Regions from separate parts of the Homo sapiens genome. Here region 2 is linked to region 1. Evidence: promoter capture Hi-C in human tissues and cell types (Jung and others, 2019). All regions are on one chromosome and are shown on one strand. Each heading gives the region's core, a stretch centred on a gene start or on the middle of the fragment in contact. The rest is flanking DNA. Distances are from core to core; before and after follow the strand shown. Region 1 holds the start of ALDH1B1 (aldehyde dehydrogenase 1 family member B1). Region 2 holds the start of TOMM5 (translocase of outer mitochondrial membrane 5).

Region 1 (4,808 bases), core at 1,501-4,000:
ACTCTCTATCCCCGCTACCCTGCTTTACTCCTTCTCTATCTCACATCCCAAATACTATCTTTACAGGCTTATATGTTTGTCTGTCTCCCCCCAGTAAAATGCAAGCTCCATGAGCACAGGAACTTATTTTTCTGTTCCATTCACTGCTACGTCCCCGAGCCTAGAGGTATGCCTGCTACAGAGCAGCGGCTCAACACACAGTACTGAATGATACACTGAGAAAACACTGAAATTGCCACAAAGGCTGTCTAAGAATTGACCTAAGACTTGAGTAGAAATCAAAGGGACTTGGAGATGGTTGTTCTCTGAGAGGGACTTGCTTCATTTCACCTCTGTGCCTCAGTTCCCCCATATGTGAAATGCCTCATGGGGTTATGTTGAATGATGTCTTGCATATAAAAACCCTGGCAAGCTCCACTCAGGACATCAGAACTGGCCGTGCCTCAGAAATTGACCTAGCCCAGCATCCCCCAACCACAGGTCTCAGCATCCCTTTTCAGCTTTCCCAGAGGTGCAGCAAGTCAGGAGGCAGCTGAGAAGAAAAGCTACAACTCTGAAGAGTGTAGACTTCGTTAAAACAACTACTGTTATAAAACTTAAACGGCATATAATACATATTAAATGAAAATTAAACAGAGTGTAGTGTTCCCAGATTAGTTGAAGCAGTTATTCTTCAGTCAGAATTTGAATCTCTCTGCCTTTGATGTCTCATGAGTCTTGCTCCGCCCAGCGGTAAAATGGAATTGCACCTGCCTGTCCCTTCACCCCCAGCCTCTCACCCTCCACCCCTGGGCAGGGAGAGGAACAAAAAACTCAATCAGGAAAGCAAGGCTCCATGTAGGTCCCCGGCCCCATAAAAATCAATGTGATGGGCGTGGTGGCTTACGCTGGTAACGCTTTGGTAGGCCGAAGTGGAAGGACTGCTTGAGGCCAGGAGTTTGAGACCAGCCTGAGCACATAGCAAGAACCGTGTCTCTACAAAAAAACAAAAATAAATTTGCCGAGCATAGTGGTGCATGCCTGTAGTTCTAGCTGCTTGGGAGGCTGAGGTGGGGGCAATCACCTGAGCCCAGGAGGTTGAGGCTGCAGTGAGCCATGATTGTGCCACTGCACTCCAGCCTGGGTAACAGAACAAGACTGTATCTAAAAAAAATAATAATAATCAATGCTGACCAAGAAAGTTTCCCTTCCCCTTGCGGGTGTTAGGAATAATGCTCAAAATCCTAAGGAAATTGAACACTCGAACACAGGATTCTTAGCAAAGCAATTTTACTTCTGCGCAGAGGGATGCCTCCTTGGCCAGTTGCCATGAGAGCACACCTGAACAAAGGGGCACGAGAGCCTTTATTCCTGATGCAAGTCCTGCCCCTGTACCCTTTCCCCATTGGCTGGGGTCAGGTCGTACAATCTAAACTAATCCCGGTTGGCTAAACATTTGATTTATTTTAGATAGAGTGGGCACGTAAAAGAAAGTGGAGAGAAAGGGGAAAGGGTGTCTGTAATGAGCTAGAAAGTTAGTCTTCTTTCCAAATAAGCAAAGGAATGTGAGCTGGTACTGATAACGCTTGGTACTGTGGCATGCCTGGGCATCTAACAAAGGCAAAAAGGAGAAAAATGAAAAAAAAAAAGGGGGGGATACTAAGAATTAAAGAATAAAAGATTGATCAGATTATTTGAAGAGAAACCTCATCATATCCCACAGGGGGAAGCTGAGTCAGCAGATCTGCCAGGGGTGCCCAGGGTTCCATTTAGCTCAGGACTTTGCCATATGCTGGGACACAGCCCCCTTGCCACCAACAGGCCTGGCTCTGAGGGTGAGGAGACCAAAAGGAGGTAGGGGAAAGGGGAGTCACCAACCCATGGGGTAAGGATTGGAGGGGTGAAGCAGTCAGGAGAGGTGGTCATAGGCCAAGGCTGGCAAACCTTTGCAGCCACACCAAGGCCGTTCCTACTCTTGGGGCCTATATGGGGTTCTTGCTGGGGCCTCCACTTGCTGATAGGAAGATCACAGCTCACAGAGCATCATGCTTTACAGTTTGCAGGCTGTCTTCTCACGGGAAATTTGCCAAGCCTCTCTGCAGTCCCTGGGTGGTCAGGGTTGATGATGACCCCCATTCTGGAAGAAGGCTGGGCATCAGAGAGGTTCAGGGACTCACCGAGGACACACAGCAAGAAAGTATAGGAGCCTCACCCCAGACTTCCACAAACCTAGCTTTGCATATCCTCCTGAATACAGGCAATTTTTTACAGTTCACCCACAGCGGGAAGGACCGGACCTTCTCTATCCGCGGGAACTGCAGCGGCGCCCACCTCACCCCTTCTGCGGGGGAAAGGGCGCAACCTTTGGGCTTGTCCAAGCCTCTGGGCTATGGTCAGGGGCCCTCTGTTGAAGTGGGCCGAGTGGGCAGGAGTGTTGAGGTCGAGCTAACGTGGTAAGGTCTGGGGGCGTCTGTGTCCTCGGGGCTCCTGTAGCGTCACCCAGAGGCGGGGGATGGGATTAGGGGACGTGGAGAGAGTCCTACAGTGCAACGGCGGAAAGGCCAGCCCCCAGATGCGGACGCCGCGGCCCAGAGAGGAAAGCCCCCACGCGGAGCCAGGAGCTGCGGCTTCCCGAGGGAGCCGAGGGGAGACCAGCGTTAGTTACCTGCAGCAGGCTCGGGCTCCGGTTCAGGATCACGCTTGGGTTCTGGTTCCGGCCCTCCCAGCTCTGTCCACATGGCCGCCCAGGGCTGGCCGCAGGTCCCGCCTCCGCGCAGCCCGGGGCTCAGCGGCCAATGAGGCTCCGCCTGCGCCTGGGGCGCTGCCTACGTCCTGTCGCCGGCCAAGGCCGCTCCTCCCTCGCCCCGCCCGGTCTTTCCCGGTCCCCGCCCCTCTACCCCCGGCAGCCCGCACCGCTTCAGCGCTCCCTCCCTCGGGTCTCCGCAAGCCCAGTGTCCACGTTGCTCAGATCTAGGCTCCTAAGGCACTGGTTTGGGAGCGGAAACAGAGATACCCAGAGAGGGGCAGGGGCTTCCCCAGGTCACACAGCAAAGTTTTCGGAGACCGAACCCCAACTACACTTTGCATTTCTCCCCGCTGCAAGACGCTGCTTAATCGACTGCCATCCTTGAGACTCCCCTTAACCCCTTCTCTGCCTCGCCTCTCCCTCACTTTTTTTGTCCAGGATTCACTAATTTCTGTCCTCCACTTTCACTGCTCCTTTCTTCAGTTCCTTCAAGAAGATTTTATATTTGGGCATTTTTCAAAGTACATTTTTGTCCTAAGGACAAAAAGAATGTATGCACAGTGTAGAAAGCTTGGAAAACACAGGAAAGGATGAAAAAAGAAGAAAAATATCACCTGTAATCTCTTCACCTACGGTAGCCATTATTACGGTGTTCGTCCTGCTAGTATTGTTTCCTCTGCATCTTTCAAAATTATTTTAATAAAAATAAAATCATATAGTAACCTCTGTTGTGCTGCTTTAAAAAAAATTTAAAAACTTAGCGCTGTATTTTGAAGTTTTCTCCTATCACTAATTACAGATGACATCATCCTCTCCAAGGTGGCATAGAATTCTGTTGTAGGGGTAAACTGTTGGACATTTAATTGTCTCCATTTTGTTGCTATAAAGGTTGCCAAGATGGACCACTGAACATGCATCTCACTCGCTCCACCCTCGCTGCACCTTCCTTCTGGCTAGGGAGGTCCCAAAGCTAACCGCCATGTTTCCCAGCCTCATTTGCAGTTAGAGTTCTGGATGTGGACTAGGTGCTGCCAATTAGTAGTACTCTGCCGGATGTGGAAGGCGGGCACGCATTGGAGGGTATTGTCCTGCCCCTGTAGGGTGGCACTAGCAGGATAGCAGAAATGGGAGATGTTCTGCGGCAGCATTCCTTGTCCCTTCTCCAGCTTTCTGGCTGTGGACCGGCCGCTGTGGCTGTAGCCGCTCCTTGACCTGGCTTCCTGCTCTTTGAATGGAGGCTGCAGGAGGGTGTCTGAAGTAGCCTCAGACAGGCACGAGGCTGGTGGGCCACGTCCATATTGTCCTGAGAGTTGGTCCTGGTCTGGCTAAGGCTTGCTTCTGCCTCCGGCACTTGCAGCAGGTCTGTAAGCACCCAGTTCCTTGTATTAAATCCCTGCCTCTCCACTGATCTAGGGTGCTCACATGCGACTGCTTGGACCTAATTCACTTAGTTCTTTCCTTAAGCTACATCTCTATGGAATCTTTTGCTACCATATCATCCTTAGCATGTTCACAGCCCTTGCTGCAAAAGTTAGCCATCCATGAAGGCACTATGATTGGCATCTTATCACCTTGATGCCCATGCTTTCCTCGGGTTTCTCCAGCAACGGCATGAGCCCCTTGCCAAGGCCCTCCTGCCTCCCCCACAGCACGTGGACAGCCTAGCTCCCCTTGGGCACTTGGCATAGCACTCCAGGACTGATTGACTTAATGATTAACTGACCAATCCTTAAGAGGCCTCATTGATAGAGGGAGTGAGTTTATGGCAAAATGAGTATCAGTCCTCGTGTTAGAGTGCATTGGAAACTGTGGCAGGTCTGAGAGGCCAGCTGCAGACAGGAAGTGACCCCCATGCGGCAAGGTTGGAGGCTGTGCCCCTTGAGGAGCAGCTGAAGGAACTGGGATGTTCACCCTTTAGAACTTGAAAGACAAGGCTGTGCCGTCCAAATCTCTGAAGGGCAAAACCAGATAGGATCTGTGGGGTCCTAGAAGGCAGAGCCAGACCAGTGAAGAATACAGAGGAATAACTCCCAGAAAAAGCAGAACTGGCTAAGGCTGGGAGGGGCTCCCTTGAAAGGCAGTG
Region 2 (4,808 bases), core at 1,487-3,986, 800 kb after region 1:
AGTTCTAGATGACACAATTAAAATTCAAGATGCATAGGTGGTTTTAAAAAATGCATAGACTGTTAGAACTGGAAGAAACTTTCAAAAGCATCTCAATATATGCCTTCCCTTTCCAACTAAACAAATGGAAGAACTGGGTGCAGTGGCTCATGCCTCGGTCAGGAGACTGAGGCAAGAGGATTACTTGAGCCCAGGAGTTTGAGACCAGCCTGGACAACACAGCAATATTCTATTTCTAACAAAATAGAAAAAAATAACCAGGTGTAGTGGCACGTGCCAGTAGTCCCAACTACTCAGGAAGCTAAGGCAGGAGAAGGACTGCTTGAGCCCAGGAGTGTGAGGTTGCAGTGCGCTATGATCACACCACTGCACTCCAACCTGGGCGACAGAGCAAAACTTCATCTCTTAAAAAAGAAAAAAGAAAATTAGCCGAGCGTAGTGGCACACGCCTGTAGTCCCAGCTACTCGGGAGGCTGAGGCAGGAGAATCGCTTGAACCCGGGAGGCAGAGGTTGCAGTGAGCCAAGATCACGCCACTGCACTCCAGCCTGGGCGACAGAGCAAAACTCAGTCTAAAATAAATAAATAAATAAATAAATAAAGAAGAAGAAAGAAATGGAGTTGCAGTGAAATCAGATACTCGTCCCTCATCACACCACTAGTTGGCAGCAGTGCCAGATCTAGAGTCCATGTCTCCAGTGTTCCTGTTCATGTTCTTTCCGCAGTTCTTGCTGCTTTCAACATCACTGCAGGCTTTCTAAACACTCACCAAGGGTTGGCTGGAGGCTATTCCTTGGGAGTCAGCCCCTCCCATTCCAGAGCTGCCTCTGCTATTCCATTGCATGAATTACAGATGCAAAAGGTTGCTAAAGCTGGAATAAGCAGATGAGTTCCCTTTCTTGCCCCAGTGCCTTACATTCTGTCAACCAGAAAGTTGACCGTGCATATAGTTATTAGTTGCTCTCATAGTAAATTATTGTCCTAATTTATCCAAAGTCCATTGTTGCTATGCAATATGCAGTCAAGAAGGAACATTCTGGTTTTGAATTATGTGAGCAATTCAGTCATCTGGCTTGCGTGTAAGAAGTAGATATGGCTAGTTGGCATGCGTAACTTGGGGCAGCAGCCTACTAACTCTGTTTGGATGCTTCTGTGACAGGAAATCTGGTTGCATCAAACTCTTGACTCTAGCGATGTCCATCCATGTGGGCACTAACTGTTAAAGACTAACAGATGAGCAGTAGGGTGCAGGGGAAAGATAATTCAACTTGACATGATAATTATCTGCATTAGAACCCTGCCCGTGCATCACCAGCAGAATGACTAGACTTTAGTGCACTTTAGACTTCAGCTGCGATGTTCCAGATAAAGGGCTTCACACCAAAGCTGGACTTGGTTTCTGAGCCTCTTTCTATTCATCTGTAAAATGCTGATCAGATTTGAACTTGCTTTATACATATTGTGTTACTTGGCTAACAGTATTTTAAAGACCTCTGTGCTTCAATAATCTGTAAAAAGGCCAGGTGCGGTGGCTCATGCCTGTAATCACGGCACTTTTGGGGGCCGAGGTGGGCAGATCACCTGAGATCAGGAGTTTCCAAGACCAGCCTGGCCAACATGGTGAAACCGCGTCTCTACAAAAAATACAAAATTTAGCCAGGCGTGGTGCTGCGCAACCGTAATCCCAGCTACTCAGGAGGCTGAGGCAGGAGAATCACTTGAACCTGGGAAGCAGCGGTTGCAGTGAGCTGAAATTGCGCCACTGCACTCCAGCCTGGGCGGCAGAGCGAGACTCTGTCTCCAAAAAAAAAAAAAAAAAAAAAAAAGTTTCATCTTTGTCTCTTTGTTTTAACTTATGTAAAGTTTCAAACATACTCAAGAAAGACTAGAATAATTAACTAAAATGAAGTACTAGTCACCAGCAGTTTTTAATATTTTGCTGACATCACTTATCTCTCTCAATACTTTTTTCCCCCTCTGAGGTATTTTTAAGCACATTTGGGGGCCAGGCGCGATAGCTCACGCCTGTAATCCCAGCACTTTGGGAGGCCGAGGCGGGAGGATCGCTTGGATCCTGGAACCCAGGAGTTCCAGAACAGTCTCAACCACCACAATTAGCAATAAAAAAATAAATAAAAATTAAAGCACATTTGGGCAAGATGTTTTAAAGATCTCTGTGCTTCAATTGTCTAATCTAGGAAACGAAGATTATAATATCGAATTCACGGGGGACAATTATATTGAATATTCAATAAATGTTAGTTATCACTGTTTACAGTGGTACCTATGTGCACAGCCCCCTCCAGCGCGTAAAAGCACTTTACAGCGCAGCGCTCCAGGCTCAAGATAGATGTTATTGTTGTTGTTATTATTATTATTATTATTATTATTTTGAGACGGAGTCTCGCTCGCTCTGTCGCCCAGGCTGGAGCGCAGTGGCGCGATCTCGGCTAACTGCAACATCCCCCTCCTGGGTTCAAGCGATTTTCCTGCCTCAGCCTCCCGAGTAGCTGGGATTGTAAGCACGCGCCACCGAGCCGGGCTGATTTTTGTATGACAGATGTTATTAAAGACAGCGTGGAGAAACCAGAGCCTGCGTTGCTGAGCTTGCGGCCGCCCGCTTCACACCGCACTTCAGATCAGCTGGGTCAGGACGTGGATTGTCCCGTGCAGGCATCCATCGTCGAGTGTGGCAACGAGAGGGCGGGAACAGGAAGTGAGGATAGGCCGAGTTCCGGGCGCGAGGCGGCCACCGTGGAGAGCAGAGCGCGGCGGCTGGAAGCTGCTAAGTCAGAGCCGCGATGTTCCGGATTGAGGGCCTCGCGCCGAAGCTGGACCCGGAGGAGATGAAACGGAAGATGCGCGAGGATGTGATCTCCTCCATACGGAACTTTCTCATCTACGTGGCCCTCCTGCGAGTCAGTGAGTGTCTCCCGGGCTGTGACTGTGAGACCAGCGGGGAGCTCACCGACGGGCACCCCTTAACTCTAAGGGGTCATCGGGGCCTTCGAACTGAGCTGAACGGTAGCGGGGAGCAAGGAGGGTGCGCGTTGAAGGCGACGGGCATATGCGCGGTTTGAGGTCTGCGGGTCAGGGTCCGGGCACTGAAGTGCACGTGGTGGCCGGCGCGCGTGTTTAATCATCCTGGTTCTCCCAGCTTGAAGAATGTTTGAGCTGCCGGGCGCGTTGGCTCACACCTGTAATCCCACCCAGCACTTTGTGAAGCCGAGGCGGGCGGATCATTTGGGGTCAGGAGTTCGTGGTGGCGGGCGCCTGTAATCCCAGCTCCTCGGGAGGCTAAGGTGGGAGGATTGCTTGAATCCAGGAGGCGGAGGTTGCAGTGAGCCGAGATCGCGACACTGCACTCCAGCTTGAGTGACAGAGCAAGACTCCATCTCAAAAAAAAGAATGTTTGAGCTGAAAGAGCTCAAGTAATTATCCCTAGAGGAACTCCCTCGTTTTTGCAGACAGAGAAACAGAGAAACAGAACCATAGTTCTAGAAGGAAGAAACAGCCTTCTTGGGAAGGCTGGCCAAAGGTCACTCAGCGATTCAGTGAATGATCTTGACCTAAAATCCAGAACTCTTAACTCAGTACCAGGTTCCTTCCCTTTCTTTTCTTTTCTTTTTTTTTTTTTTCCTCGATACACAGTCACGCCCTGTTGCCCAGGCTGGAGTGCAGTGGCGCAGTCTTGGCTCACTGCAACCTCTGCCTCCCGAGTTCAAGCCATTCTCCCACCTCAGCCTCCCAAGTAGCTGAGATTACAGGCGCGCGCCACCACGCCCGGCTAATTTTTGTATTTTTAGTAGAGATGGGTGTTTAACCATGTTGGCCAGGCCGGTCTCGAACTCCTGACCTCAGGTGATCCACCTGCCTCAGCCTCCCAAAGTGCTGGGATTACAGGCGTGAACCAGCGGCCGGGTTCCTTCCCTTTCAAAAGTGCTGACCTTTGAAATCCAAAAAGTTTTGCTTCATTTCTGTTTCTTTGTATAGAGGGTGAAGTGAGTCATTAGTTTTTTGGAAAAAAATGGGAAAAAAGAATATGAGTCTATAGGATTAATGCAAATATTTGAGGTTTTTTTTTCTATATCTTAAAATTGACAGGAAGTTACTCCCATTATATAGTCTTGACAGTGGACCTTTGAGGGAGGCAGGGCCTAAGATTCTTTATATCATTTTACAAATGAGAACTTGATTTTCAGAGGGGACTTAGCAAGGAAGGAAGGTATCAGAGTTATAGGAACACTGAATATAAGAACTGGAAGCAGCTTTATGATCAGTTCTCGAATGCCCTGCCTTCTCGTTCTCAATTCAGTATCCTTTCCATTGTTCCTTGCTGTATATTATTGGCCAGCCAGTCTGGATGGAGCGGCAGGGATGGTTCAAATAAATGAAGGCCATACCAAAGTCATCCTATTGAAGGCTCATGTTGGGCTTAGGCCAGAGCTCACTGATACTGAGATGTCCCTTATTCTGTGTCTCTTTCACTGTCTATGGTATTACTCTGCTTTCACAGAAGAGCGAGTCTTGGGGAACAGAAACACCCGTATCATCCTAGTTCAACAGCTTCTTGCAACTCCCAAATTTACTTATTTCCTGCCTCCTGCCTTTTTCATTGATCTAGCTGCCAGTGAAATATTTGCTGCTTCTCAGTGACCTTTGTATTTGATATGAATTGTTTATTTTCACTTTTAAGTTGAAATATAATTTGTATATTATACAATATACCCATTTAAGGTGTACAATTCAGTGGTTTTTAGCAGTCAGTTGTGCAGCCATCACAATTTGACAGTATTTTCTTTCCCCCTA

Evidence for each region. Contacts are between HindIII fragments. The study calls those that stand out against the background at their distance.
Region 2: a contact is called between the fragment with the promoter of TOMM5 here and the fragment with the promoter of ALDH1B1 in region 1, in 4 of the 25 tissues and cell types used here (heart left ventricle, lymphoblastoid cells, mesendoderm cells and 1 more).

Annotation. Positions count from the first base shown.
Region 1 is chr9:38,390,644-38,395,451 of GRCh38, reverse strand. ALDH1B1 (aldehyde dehydrogenase 1 family member B1) reads right to left here and starts at 2,750. Exons shown (of 2, transcript NM_000692.5): 1 at 2,645-2,750. RefSeq lists enhancers at 2,274-2,363, 2,404-2,453 and a silencer at 2,664-2,983. The HindIII fragment of the contact is 12,047 bases long and covers 1-4,743 here.
Region 2 is chr9:37,590,525-37,595,332 of GRCh38, reverse strand. It overlaps TOMM5 (translocase of outer mitochondrial membrane 5), which reads left to right and starts at 2,736. Exons shown (of 2, transcript NM_001001790.3): 1 at 2,736-2,921. The coding sequence starts at 2,801. RefSeq lists silencers at 658-727, 1,127-1,421 and an enhancer at 2,380-3,139. The HindIII fragment of the contact is 28,692 bases long and covers 1-4,808 here.